2 separate regions of the Homo sapiens genome follow, and region 2 is linked to region 1. The links are contacts of gene promoters, found by promoter capture Hi-C in blood cells and fetal thymus (Javierre and others, 2016). All regions are on one chromosome and are shown on one strand. Each heading gives the region's core, a stretch centred on a gene start or on the middle of the fragment in contact. The rest is flanking DNA. Distances are from core to core; before and after follow the strand shown. Region 1 holds the start of FRS3 (fibroblast growth factor receptor substrate 3). Region 2 has its middle 25 kb from the start of UBR2.

Region 1 (7,201 bases), core at 3,032-5,531:
GCTTGGTTGGTGTCCAGGCAAAGGGAACCCAAGCTCAGAACTGCAGGACCCTGAGGAGACATGGAAGAAGGGGAGGAGTGAAACTAGGTTTTTCTTTCCTTTCTCCTTCTTTCCCCCTCATCATTGCCACCTCTTCTCCAATCTAGAGCAGCTTCTAAGCATGCCCTCCATTTGGGAGGGTCCTCCTTGCAGATCCTCACTGAGTGCAAGGATAGCTGACTGATGCCTGCATGTGTGGTCTTCCTTGAGGGAGGCTGGGGAGGCCCCACACCCCAAAACAGCTTCCCTTCTTATGCTTTCCCTTCTTAACCCCCTTCACGCCTTGGGGCCAAAGCCCCTAGAGTCTGGTTTGACAATACAGACCCCCTAGGAGAGATAATGAATACTCATGTGAATGAGTTTAAAGTCAAAACCCCATGTTCTAAGCAGGTGCAGAGACAGGAATTCCTGAAAAGAGAAAAAGGCAACAAGAGATTAGGCACGAAGTCAAACTACCTCCGGGTTGGTGGAAAAGGGTGGCCACTCCACAGGATAGAGGACATGTTGGTCTCAGAGGAAGGGCACGACTCTACTACCTGAGCATGGGTATCCTCAGGGTCCTCCCCCGGCAGGTGGCCTGAGTCACTGTCTGAGTTGGCTGGTGGACCTGGATCCTGGGGCTTGGGGCTGTCTTCTTGGTGGGGCCAGCCAGAGTTCTGCACTGACATTTGTGGCAAAGCCTACCCCAAAACAATAAGAACACCTCCATGTATTAGGCCGTTACAATGTGCTAGGAAGTGTTAAGTGCTTTATAGATATTATTTCCCTCAGTCCTCCCAACACCCAAACGACTTAGGTAGCATTATCCCCATCTTACAGATGGCCCAACTGAGGATCAGACCTTGAGTAGCATGCCCAAGGTCAAACAGCTAGTAAGTGGCAGAGCCAGGACTTGAGGTCAGGTCTTTTGGTCCAGAATTTCTGAAGTTCAAATTCTGGGGTCTCCCAAGATCAGGATGGAGGTAAGAGGAGGCCCATGGTAGAAGGAGAGGGCACTTTGCCTTTCTGGTGGGCCTTTGGACACTCTCTCCTTACCTCATCAGCCTTAACTTCCACCGTTTCTCACCATGCACCCACAGCCCCAGTGAGCCTCCTTGTTCACAACTTCCTACATGGGCCCAGGTTTTCCAGCTATATAGGCTTGGGCCTCTGGTTAAAGGATCCCCTTACTAGGAAGCCCTTCTCAGCCTCTGTGACCACACCAGCTCTCCCTTCCCTGAGCTCCTGAAGCAAGCAGTGCCCCAAGATTTAGCACCTAATGTTTTTCTCTTTGCTCCCTGCATCTCTCTCGGCTCCTAATCTAGTCTATAAGTTCCTCAAAGACAGAGGAACACCTTGCACTTTTATATATAGCAGCAATTGCATTGGATAATCTAAGTTCATCTCTTCAGCTTTCCTCTCGGCAGCTCCTGATATGACCATAATATCTTGGGGGTAAGAAGTGACTATTGGCTGGGCACGGTGGCTCACGCCTGTAATCCCAGCACTCCGGGAGGCCGAGACAAGCGGATCACGAGGTCAGGAGATCGAGACCATCCTGGCTAACACGGTGTAAACCTCCTCTCTACTAAAAATATTAAAAAAATTAGCCGGGCGTGGTGGCGGGCGCCTATAGTCCCAGCTACTCCGGAGGCTGAGGCAGGAGAATGGTGTGAACCCGGGAGGTGGAGCTTGCAGTGAGCCAAGATCGCGCCACTGCACTCCAGCCTGGGCGACAGAGCAAGACTCCGTCTCAAAAAAAAAAAAAAAAAAAAAGAAGAAGTGACCATTGGCTGGGCACAGTGGCTTATGCCTGTAATCCCAGCACTTTGGGAGGCTGAGGCAGGCAGATCACCTGAGGTCAGTGGTTCGAGACCATCCTGGCCAACATGGGGAAACCCCATCTCTACTACAAATACAAAAATAAGCTGGGCGTGGTAATGTGTGCCTGTAATCCCAGCTACTCCAGAGGCTGAGGCAGGAGAATCGCTCCAACCTACCTGGAAGGCAGAGGTGGCAGTGAGCTGAGATCATGCCACTGCACTCCAGCCTGGGCAACAGAGTGAGACTCCGTCTCAAAAAAAAAAAAAAAAAAGCGACTATTAATGTAGAGAAGAGATGAGCCCCGCCCTCAAGGAGCTCATAGTGGGTAAGACAAAGATGAAACCAGGTAGAATGGGATCAATCAGAGCTCGGGACAGACATACAAAAACCCTGGAGAAAAAAATAACCAGAGCAAACTTTTTAATAATATTTACTCTGTGCCAAGGACTCTTCTAGAATATTACATAATATAGTCCATCCTCACAATAATCTTATGAGGTAATCTCTTTCATTCCACTTGACAGTTGAAACAAGTTAATTAACTTGCCCAAGATCATACCAGAGGCTAAGGGAAGCCTTAGGGGGACCTGGCTTCTGAGAGCTGGGATAGATTCTGAAAGTAGCTGGGCACAGGAGGGTCATCATCAAATCCCTGGCCTCTAAGACTGGGCCAGGGATTCGTACTGGGGTTGAGGTGAGGGTTTGGACTGTAACAGTTAATATTGCTTCCCAGCACTGAACCCTCCTCAGCACCGCCCCTCCACTCCCACTTCAAATGTCCTGTGCCACCCTTCCCTCCTTCCTGGCTTCACACCCACCTGCTTCCTTCCTCTTCTGTCCTTCAGGTCAGGTTTCCTGTGGAAGGTGGCCAGGATGGGCTGTTCACACCAGGAGTAGCCACTAACAGCACTGCCCCTGCTCCAGGCAGCAAGAAAGGAGGGGGCGTCTGGGGCCCCAGGAGGGGACTTGCACCCTCTTCCATTTTGGCTCTAGTTTGCATAGAATTGTCCAACACAGAAACAACACTCAGAAATCAGGCCTCTATTCCTCACCCTTCCAATCTCCCCAAAGGCAGCCAAACTCCACCTCCACCTAGCACTGGAACACCCTTACTAACAGGCCAGCTGGATTCCTTCCATAATTCCCTTCCCCCTCCCACCTCAGATAAGGGACAGAGCTGAACCCCTTGTCTTGCCTCCGTGCAGAGCCTCCGTGCAAGAGGGCTCAGGAGCTGGACATCCCCAACACCCGCTGCCCTGAAGGGCAGAGCCCGAGAGGACTTAGGGCTTGGGGAGGTGGAGGGATGGGAAGATTTCTGGGGACAGTGGGAGGGAGAAGGAAGGGGAGTGCCCAGTCCCGCCAACTGCCCTCTCGATAGATCCCCAGAGTTTTTCTGGAACTTGGCGGGCCCGCCTCCGGGGCTGGGACGCGGTGTTTCCCGAGTCCGCTGGGGTTCCCGGTCTGGCTGCTGGGATTTTAGGGGAGGGGACCAGGACTCCGCTGGGGTCTCACCCTCGCTGTGCGTCGCTGTCCGGGCAGTTCTGGACCGACTCTGCCGTCAGGCCCCTCACCCGGTCCCCACCCCAAGGCTTCAGCGCCCGCCCCCGTCCGCCCCCGCCCGCCCTAATAGCGCGGCCCTTCCTCTCCCACGCCCCAGCGGCCCCCGCCCGCCCCTCCCCGGCTGGTGGAGAGGGGCGGCTCAGGGAGGGGCCTGGAGCTGCAGATTGGGGGGAGGAAAAAAAAAAGGAAAACAAAACCACATTTATGGGATCTCAGGGTGGAAATGTGCGGGCTCCATGGCCTCTGCCATGCAGGTGCAAGGGCTCTCTGGCTCGGACTGCGCCCGGCAGGCATCCAGCAGACGCCGGGAGCCGCGTTTACGCTGGGTTTTCAACCATTCGCTGAATGGAAACGCCTCGCCGGGCCCGCAGCCCTGTCTCTCCGCAGTTCCCAGGTCTCCCCAAACTCTCCCTGTGGTCTCCCAGCCCCGCTCCTCCGCGTGTTTCCCTTCAGTTCTCTCCCCCTTGTCCCCAGTGGTCCCCCTGGCCCCTTCCCCTCCCCTCAACCCTCTTCCAGGTTCCATCGTCTTGCCCTTCTCCTTTCAGGTCCCTTCAGACCCTCTCCCCTTCCCTTCGTTTCTCGCCCAACCCTCCGTCCCCTTTCCGCTCCCCGGACCACCCCCAACTTTGGTGTCCTCAGCCCCGCCTCCGCGCCCCGCCTCCGCCGCAGGCTCCGCCCTGTCCCCTCCGGGCTTGCTCAGCCCCTGGCCAGGAGCGCCCTCTGGCGTCTGCGCATGCTCACTGCTCCCGACTGCAAAGTCCTCCAAAGGGACCTTCTAGGCTGCGTGCCGGTCGCCCCCGCTCGGGTCCGCCAGCCCGCAGCGTCTCGTTGGTGCTGCCGGTGACCTCCGACCCCGCGGCCGCGGGGCGGGGCGGGGCGGGGAGGCCTTAGCTCCGGGCGGGCGGCGGCTGCTGCAGCGGGACCCGGGAGCGGGGCCCGGCGCCGCCCGGGCCGCGGGGCGATGTGAGTCGGGGCGCGGCGGGGCGGGGACGAGGCGGCTTCACCGAGGCCGCGCCGCGCCGCGCCGCGCCGCGCCGCAGTCTCCACTCCCTCCCTAGGAAGCCCCGGGCGGGCGGGCAGGCGGCGGAGCACCGGGGCTGGGGGCGGGGATCCGGGGACAGCGCGCACCCAGACCTCCTCATTCCTTACGGGCATGTAGAAATTCCCCTTGACAGTCCTGTAGCCTGTCCTGCAGCCTCTGGCTCCCCCAACCCACCTCTACCCTCTCCGCCCTGGACACATCATCGCATCTCCTGGAGCCCTCAGAACCCCCTCATTCACTCAACAAATCTCCTGCTATGCCCACGGACCCACCATTTCTCTTGGATGCCCCCAAATGCTTCCACTGCCCGGAAATTCCTAGGATCCCTCATATCCCCATTCTCCTTGCACTATCCAAAATGCCCACATCCAAAATTCTTGCTCATGTTTCCCCAAACGTCCTCATACGTTTTCAGCCCCCACACCCCCCTCTCACTCCTGCCCCTGATCCATACCTATCCCAGACCAGAGGCCTCTCCCCATTTCCACTCAATGCAGTCCCTCCTCAGTGGGCTATCTGATACATCCTGATATCTTAAGGAGAAGAGATGGTGATAGGGAAATTCAGCCCCTCCCCCATCTTGCACCCTAGAGTTCTTCGTTTCAGTGCCCGCGCCGTGCCCCCGTCGGTGGCTCAAGCCCCAGTATTTTCCCAGCAACCTATCTTTAGTCTGTGCACACCTCCCTGAGCCTGCTTCTTCCTTCCAGAAAATAAGCCAGACCAAGGGGATGGGGTCCTTTTACCTGGAAGTTGTCCAAGGATGCAGGGTGCAAGGGGCCCTGGGAAGTGTTTCTCCAGAGCAGGAATGTGGGATGTCCAGGGTCTGCAGAGTCCTGGCTTGTTGACTTGTCTACCTTGGGCTCAGATATCCTGAAATTTTGGCTTACTGTTAACATTTATGTTAAAATTAGGCCTTTCAGAGCTTGGGGAGCAGAAAATCTATCAAGCTTCCAAATGCGAAATTGAAGCAGCCTGTCTTGGAAGATGAACATGTCAATTTTAGTGAAGTTTGTCTTACGTTTTTACCTCTGCAAGTTATTTAAGCTAGAAGCTCCCCAGTTTATAGATGGTTCCCCCAAAAACTAAGGCCTTAGGTGGGAGTTGGGGGGGGCGTTGACTTAAGTCTCCCAGATACTTAGTAGCAACAAAACTGACCGATATATTGGTTTCCTGAGTCTTAAACCAGTGCTGTCTCTACTATATCACAGTGTCCTTTTGAGAAAGCTCTTTGTAGAGTTAAAGTTCTCTGCAAAGGTAAGGTGATGGTTTTGGTGTTTGTTGTAACAGGACTCAGAGGGAGATCTAAAGTGACTTAAAAGGTCTTTGGTCGTCTTAGACTTCAAACTTATTGATGTTCTTGGTGTCTGTCCCTCTCAGGGCCCGTGGGGCTTGGGATTTGTGCTCCCTTTGCCCTTGATTTTACTTTCTTCATTGGTGTTTTTGTCCCATTAGGGCTGGAACAGATACCCAGGTGGGATGGACTGTTAGGTCAGTTTTCATTAACAGTTGGGGGTGAAGATAGAAGGTTTTGTTAATCAGTGTCTCTGTTTCCTATGCTAGGTGAGCCCCAGGTGTATCCCAGAGGGATCCGGGTGACTTCTCTGCAGACTGTTTGCCATGACAGCCCACCAAGGACGGGGGGAATAAAGTGGGAACCCTTCCCCATGCCCCTCCCACGGTCAGCTCCCCGATGGCCTGGGTGAGGTAAGAGCTGTGTATAGGGGTCAGTTTTATGGCGTTTCCCAAGTTGGGAGGAACAGAGGGTACAGGTCACCTGGTTGTTCAAAGCTTTACCATTCAGCAGGAGTTCTAGAAGGATAGCCAATCCTACAGACTTATTTCTTGTGACAAGTTGCAACCCCTTAAAACTTCTGCTTGGTATTGGTCCATGCATTTCTTGTTCCCTTAGGTCATTCAAGCTTGGGTGGTGTCCTCTTCATTCTAGGCACAGTCCTGACTATTGTGACATATAATCCAAGTACTGGAATCCTGGAGGGGAAGAGCCAAATAGTAAGGCCTCTGGTCTCCCCTTCAGAAAAAGGGAAGGAAACCCAGCATTTTTTTTAAATGAAGAAATATCCACTTGAGGTTATTAAAACTGCACTGTTTTAAATGTTCAGTCTTCTGAATATATCTTTATGATCACAATGTAACAACTCATTTGAAGAGGACATCAGAAAGATAAATTTGCACTGGATGTTGGGATGGTAGTAAGGGAGAAGAGAGAACTTGGATGAAGTGGAATGGATGAGGTAAAAAGGGAGGAAAAAAGAGACAGGCACAGGCCAAAGTGTCTGAGACCCCCAAGTGACAATTTCTTTGCTGAATCCAAATAAGGGGCTCGGGCTGGCACCCACCTCCATCTGCTGCAGATCACTTCTCCTGGACCCCTACTTTTCTTCCTGCCTGTGTCCCTGCCTTCCTTGTCATTACATGGGTCAGAATCCTACATACTTCTCAAGGTCCAGATCAAATGTTACCTCTGAGAAGCTCTCTCCAGCCCCCCATCGGCATTCATCCTTAACACATTGTAACTTGAATTAACGTTTATCCAATGTGTGTCTGGCCCTGGATTGAGAATGTGAAGTCTTTGAGGGGGGGTCTGTATCACACAGTCTCTTGGACAGAGTAGGTGATCACAATGACGTGCTTCTGCCCAAGTTCCCCAGAGCAGGGTTTTTTGAAGCTGAAGTTGGTGACCTGCATATCCTGTATGTTTTTCCTAGGGCAGGCTGGCTGCTCTGACACCATGGGGAG
Region 2 (6,726 bases), core at 3,137-5,636, 760 kb before region 1:
TTTTTTCCTCCATTTCCTCAGTTGTTTTTTCTTAATGTCATTATCATTCATTCAACCTCAAACTCTTTTTTTTTTTTTTGAGACGGAGTCTTGCTCTGTCGCCCAGGCTGGAGTGCAGTGGCACAATCTCGGCTCGGCTCACTGCAAGCTCCGCCTCTCAGGTTCACGCCATTCTCCTGCCTCAGCCTCCCGAGTAGCTGGGACTACAGGCGCCTGCCACCACGCCCGGCTATTTTTTTGTATTATTTTAGTAGAGACGGGGTTTCATCGTGTTATCGAGGATGGTCTCGATCTCCTGACCTCGTGATCCGCCTGCCTCGGCCTCCCAAAGTGCTGGGATTACAGGCGTGAGCCACTGCACCCGGCCTCAACCTCAAACTCTTACCTAGCTTATATATCTCTTTGCGAGATTGATTATTTTCTCAACGTTATCTCCCTGAAAAAAAAAATCTGGGCTTGCCGCTCTCCATGATGGGTGCACATTTTGTATCCCTTTGTCTTCTGTCATGGTCTCCTGGGATTCCCTTAGCCTGTGATAGAGCTCCAGTTTCCTGGACATTCTGTCTTCCTTGTTTTGTTTTCTTTACTGTCATGTTTGGATAAAACATACCCTTCAATAGCTTCATAAGGAAGGGTGCATGGGGGGTAAATTTTCTCACATCTAAAATATTTTTATTTTGCTCTCATACTTGAAAAATGGCTGGACATGGTTTCTCTAGATTGAAAATCATTTTACTCTAGAATTTTGAAGGCATTGCTTTTTTGCTTTCCAGCTTCCTGTTGAGAAGTCAGAAGCCATTTTTGTCCCTGATCTTTTATATGGGTCCTTTGGCTTTCTCTCCAGAAATGTGGAAGATATTTTTCTTCGTCCCCATTGTGAAATCTGCATGATGTACCTTAGTATAGGTCTATTTTAATTCTTTGTGCTGGACACTTTTAATTTGGAAACTCATACTATACATTTCTGGGCAATTCCCTTGAACTATTTCTTTAACGGTTTCCTTTCTTTCATGTTCACTGTTTATTCTTTCTGGGACTCCTACTATTTGGGTCATGTTCCACCTGAACTAGCCTTCTAATTTTCTTATCTTTTCATTCCTATTTTCTACCTCTTTGTGTTTGAACTCTACATACTTAGAGATTTCCTCAACATCATCTTCCAAACTTTCTGTATATTAAAAATAATCTCTGCTATCATGTCATTAATTTGCAACGGCCCTCTCTCATTCTTTTCCCTGTGAATATTTTTTTCTTTGTAGCACTCTATACTTAGTTTATGGATATGATATTACAATTGCTTTTAACTTTTCTAAGGATATTGTGATAGTTAATTTGATGTGTCAACTTGACTGGGCCCATAGGGTACCCAGATATTTGGTTAAACATTATTCTGGGTTATCTGCAGGCAGGGTGACAAGGGGGTTTCTGGATGAGATTAACATTTGAATCAGTAGACTGAGTAAAACAAATTGCCTTCACCAACGTGAGCAAGCCTGATTCAATCTGTGGTATTCAATTTGAATAGAACAAAAAGGCTGAGCAAGAGGGAATTTGCTTTCTCTACCTTATGGTGTTTGACCTGGGACATTGGGCTTCTGTCTTTGGACATGGACTGGAACTTACATCATCAGCCTACTGGTTCTCAGGCTTTTAGACTGCAGATTTGTGGACTTCTTAGCCTCCATATTCGTGTGAGCCAATTCCTTATAATAATCTCCCCTTTATATATCTACATCTATTATTTATTTATTTATTTATTGCTACTAGCAGGATCAACCAGATAAATATCTATCTGTCTATCTATCTATCCATCCATCCATCCATTTACCTTATTGTTCCTGTTTCTCTGGAGAATCCTAATATTCATATTAATGATAAGATTTGTTTTGTTTTAGTTTTCTTCTCCTTGTGTAATTGCATAATTCATTTTCTCCAAGTTTCTTTTTTCTATTTGTACATTTTAGTTTCTAGTGATCCATGTTAGAAGTTTTCCTCAGATGCCTCAGGTGATCCTTGGTAGTTTGCTCCTATTTAAGCTGATTGGAAACTTTGACAATGCAAGGAAGGATTTATAGGGTGTTCTGGCTGGATGGTTTCATTGGAGGAATGCTTGAGGTCTATACGTTTATGTCTTTACTTGTCAGCTGATCAGATTCCCCAGATGTGTCCTTTCCCATCTCTGTCTGGAAGGGTGCAAGCCAGGCTGCCAATGTTATAGGAGCAGAGGCGGAAGAAGGCAAGAGTTTCTGCCTCTAGTGCTTACACCTAATCCTGTTTTCTCTCCCTTTCTTTCTTTCTTTCTTTCTTTCTTTCTTTCTTTCTTTCTTTCTTTCTTTCTTTCTTTCTTTCTTTCTTCTTTCTTTCCTTCTTTCTTTCTCTTTCTTTCCTTCCTTCCTTCCTTTCTTTCTTTCTTTCTTTCCTTCCTTCCTTCCTTCCTTCCTTCCTTCCTTCCTTCCTTCCTTTCTCTCTCTTTCTCTCTTTCTCCTTCCTTCCTTCCTTCCCTCCTTCCTTTTTTGAAATGGAGTCTCGCTTTATCGCCCAGGCTGGAGTGCAGTGGTGCGATCTCAGCTCACTGCAACCTCTGCCTCCCGGGTTCAAGTGATTCTCCTGCCTCAGCCTCCTAAGTAGCTGGGATTATAGGTGTGCACCACCACGCCCGGCTAGTTTTTTGTATTTTTAGTAGACATGGAGTTTCACCATGTTGGTCAGGCTGGTCTTGAACTCCTGACCTTGTGATCTGCCTGCCCTGGCCTCCCAAAGTGCTGGGATTACAGGCATGAGCCACTGCACCCGGCATCCTGTTTTCTGTGTAGTGTCAAGTGTGCCTAGTGTCCTCCAGACCAGACATCTACCTCACCCTCACCCCCAGTTTACCCTTTTTAGGCAATAAACCACCAATCTGTTGCTGTGGGGAGACAGGGAGTTGGGGGGGCATCTAAGGCTCTAATTGCTTTTATTTATTTATTTATTAACTAGAGAGAGAGAGTTGTGCTCTATCGCCCAGGCTGGAGTGCAGTGTCACAATCATAACCCACTGTAACCTTGAACTCCTGGGCTCAAGCAATTCTTCTACCTCCACCTCCTGAGTAGCTAGGACTACAGGTGTGCGCTATTTTTATTTATTTATTTATTTTTGGTAGAGACAAGTTCCCACTATGTTGCCCAGGCTGGTCTTGAATTACTGGCCTCAAGTGATCCTTCCACCTCAGCCTCCCAGAGTGCTGCGATTACAGGTGTGAGCCACTATGCCAGGCCTCTAATTGCTTCTTAAGTGGTATTTCCATCAGTTCTCTGTTTTATCTCTCTTTCATTTCCAAAGATAAATGGTTCCATCCATTCCTGAGCCTTTTGGGAGATTCTGTCGTGTAAATTGATTTGATTTCTATCTTTCTCCACTGCCACCTTAGGATTCTGTTTTCTTAGGTCTGAGTCATTTACTTATAGCATAGCTATTCATTTGTATATTTATTTTGCAATTAGATACTGAAGTGCATTTGCTTACTCTTAAGTTTTCAAAGTACACAGTACTATAACAACTGCAAATAATGAAAATTTTCCTTCCCTTACTAACTTTTATACCTTAATATTTATTTTAATATTTATTTTCCTTCTAAAATACTATTGGCTTATACCTTCACTACAATGTGAAATAGTAGTAGTGATACGGGCATCCTTGTCTTTTTCCTGGATTTGCTGGGATTCTTTTAGTATTTCACCATTAAGCATGCTGCTGGTTTGGATCTGATTGCATACATTTATTTATTGTGTTAAGGAAATATCTCTCTTTTTTATTAAAAGGTTTGTGTCAGAAATGAATGTATAATTTTTCCAAATACCTTTTGGTCCCCTACAGATTTTTTTTTTTTTTGAGATGGAGTCTTGATCTGTTGTCCAGGCTGGAGTGCAGTGGCACGATCTCGGCTCACTGCAACCTCTACCTCCCAGGTTCAAACAATTCTCCTGCCTCAGCCTCCCGAGTAGCTGGGGTTACAGGTGCCTGCCACCACGCCCAGCTAATTTTTGTATTTTTAGTAGAGGCGGGGTTTCACCATATTGGCCAGGAGGAACTCCCGACCTCAGGTGGTCCACCCACCTTGGCCTCCCAAAGTGCTGGGATTACAGGTGTGAGCCACTGCGCCTGGCCTCCCCTACAGATTTTTAAAATCCATATTCATGAGAGAAATTTGCCTGCATTTTTTCTATTCAATGCTGTATTTTTTAGGTTTTAGTATCAGTGTCATATTGCTTTTGTAAAAAAATAATCTAAAAGCTTGCTTTCTCTCTTATACTTTGGAACAGTTTAACAGCATTGGAACTATCTGGTGAGTAATTTAAAAAATTAGTGTCCAGTACCTGAACAGACTGACCCTCTACCCTCCTTCAAATCAAATAATAGTTTATAGGGTGATGCCTACTTGTAAGTCAGCTCCGCAAGCTGTGGTCTCAGCAACTACAGAGGTAATATTAAATGAAAGACACAAAATTTACTTTCTCGAAGCTTCAGGCAGCCGGAAAAGGAGGAGAAGGGAAAGGAAAAGGAAGAGGAGGAAGTTAATTGTGTTGTTTGGACAAGAATGTAGTTCAACAGACTGTTTTTCTTCAGCCAACAACAAGACAAGCCTGATAAAAAAAGGACGAAGTAAAAGGAATTTCTGCTACTCCTTTCTCCAAAGCTCTCAGACTTGGCCTCACGATTCTGTAGTCTCCTCAAGAGTCCTGTAGAAGATTTCCCAGAGGAGATAGGTAAGGCTGTCTCTGGGCCACTGGAACAAGGTCTGGGGTTGCTGCTTGCTGACAAACAGCAAAGTGCTGTGTTGGTTTAGTGATTTGCTGATCCCTTTTCTTTGATGAAGATGGTGTTTGATTCATTGCATCAGCTTGATTTGGCTAACTCAAGACCTGGCTTTTCACAGTTTATCTACTACCTGGGGAAACACTGAGGTGGAAGGTTCTAGAAAAAGTTCAGTGTATTATAAATGAGAGACTTCTGATTATGTCTGCAAGTGGAAGTTGCTGCTGCCCAAGGCTTGATTTCACCATCAGACAGTGGCCAAATGGGATGACTCTTACAATTCTCCAAGTGTACAGTGAAATGGGGAGGTTTCGAAGATGCCTTCATATTTTAGATGGGCTTGGAGCTTAGACCACTTCCATATTCCCTTTTAACTGTCATAATTGATGAGGGAGTCAGTATAGCTCAAGTGACCAAGAGCATAGACTCTGGATTAGACAGATCTAGTGTGGATCCCATTTCTGCTCTAATTAGCTCCATCAAATTAATGAACCTCCCTGAGCCTCAGCTTATCTGGAAAATGAGGACAGTCATCGAACTTACCTCACTCAGAAGGCTGATGTGAAGATGAAGTGAGATATTGGGTAAAAGGCTCCTGACAGGATGTCAGGCCCATAAGTGAGGACCTATAAGTGATTGTTATTGTTGGTGTTACTATTATTCTATATGTCTTCTGGGACTGATGCTTCTGTCACTAAATAAGTGAATAAAGCTCCTGCTCATGGAGAGAGGCTGTTAAGGGTCAGGCCTGTCTGGGAGTTCGATAGCAGCTGGGGACTTGCCTAAACCGATCCACCCCATGGTTAGCAGGAAGATGCTGATCCCTTAGTCTCCTGTTCTCACTTCCACATCTTTTGTCTTAGGGGAAGTGGTAGGAACTTCTTGGATGTGCAAGCTCTGTCCTCTGAAAGTAGACCAGGGTCTTTATTCTGGTTGTGAGTGGAGAGTGAACTCCAAGTCAGAAAATCTTGTTACTTCTGATTAGTCATCAACAGAGCAAGGCCCCCTCGGGGGACTCACCTGCTCCCTGCACCATCGAACGTGCTCTGAGTATCACACCACCTCTCAACATCTTCTCCTGGACAACCCTGTGCTGCTCAGCTGCTCCTGCCCTCTGACACTAGCCTCCAGTTGGGTTCTCTCTCTGACTGGAATAGCCTGGACTGGTTGTGGATAAAGAAGTTTGCCCCCTCCTTCTCCCTCATTTTGCCCTCTTTGCAATGTCTTTCCTCTCTCTTCCTACCCCAGGGACCCCCTAGTCTTCACTTCCTTCAGTTACCCTGTGTTTTCCCATCCTCTTCCACACTTCTTCCCATTGCAATCACATTTTAAATCCTTTATTCAAAAGTTTAATAAATGAATCTAATTACTTAAAGTATGTGCTAAGCTCTCTTGCTTGTAGTAAATGGCTTTCTTTGGTTTATCTCAAATAATTCTCTTCCTCCAGTGGGAGGGTAGGTTACATAATTATTGTGAAGAACCCACATGGTAATTGGGGGAATCAGGGCACTGCCGGCACCAGAGTGGCTGCCCAGCTGGGCCTCATTGCAGCTACAGCATGGCTGGGGAACCAGAAGTGGGGCCCAGGATACAGAGCTCTGGGGACAGTAACGTGTCCCCCTCTCAGCAGGAGATTGTCTACCTTTTGACATGACTGTGACACAGCCTCCTTCTGCCTCTGATTCTCACACTTTTGCCACTACCAGCTCACCTCTAACCCTTCTTTTCTTTGCCTCATGGCTTCTGTTCTCTACAAGCTTCTACTTATCAAGAGTTCTGGTTCTCAATGGCTTCTATGACCTCATGGCACTGCCTCTTCTTTGGTGGACAGGAGTTTTTACAGTGGAGCCCCTCACGGGCTGCTGCTGGCTGGGCCACTCATTGGCTGACCCTGCATTGGTTTTCCACCCCTGATCCATTCGCCAGTGGACACA

What was found. The method cuts DNA at HindIII sites, captures the fragments that hold promoters and counts their contacts. A CHiCAGO score of 5 or more calls a contact.
Region 2: a fragment that was not itself captured here is called in contact with the fragment with the promoter of FRS3 in region 1 in 3 of 17 cell types (total CD8 T cells, total CD4 T cells and activated CD4 T cells); the score reaches 8.3 in total CD8 T cells.

The regions. Positions count from the first base shown.
Region 1 is chr6:41,776,980-41,784,180 of GRCh38, reverse strand. It overlaps FRS3 (fibroblast growth factor receptor substrate 3), which reads left to right and starts at 4,281. Exons shown (of 7, transcript NM_006653.5): 1 at 4,281-4,365; 2 at 6,005-6,148; 3 at 7,171-7,201. The coding sequence starts at 7,194. PRICKLE4 (prickle planar cell polarity protein 4) reads right to left here and starts at 3,399. Exons shown (of 8, transcript NM_013397.6): 1 at 3,355-3,399; 2 at 2,661-2,831; 3 at 576-719; 4 at 1-50. The coding sequence starts at 707. RefSeq lists silencers at 3,616-3,685, 3,966-4,375, 4,406-4,555. The HindIII fragment of the contact is 6,259 bases long and covers 1-5,393 here.
Region 2 is chr6:42,536,065-42,542,790 of GRCh38, reverse strand. No RefSeq gene overlaps it. Among named protein-coding and RNA genes, the nearest start is that of UBR2, 25 kb to the left of the region's middle. The HindIII fragment of the contact is 228 bases long and covers 4,273-4,500 here.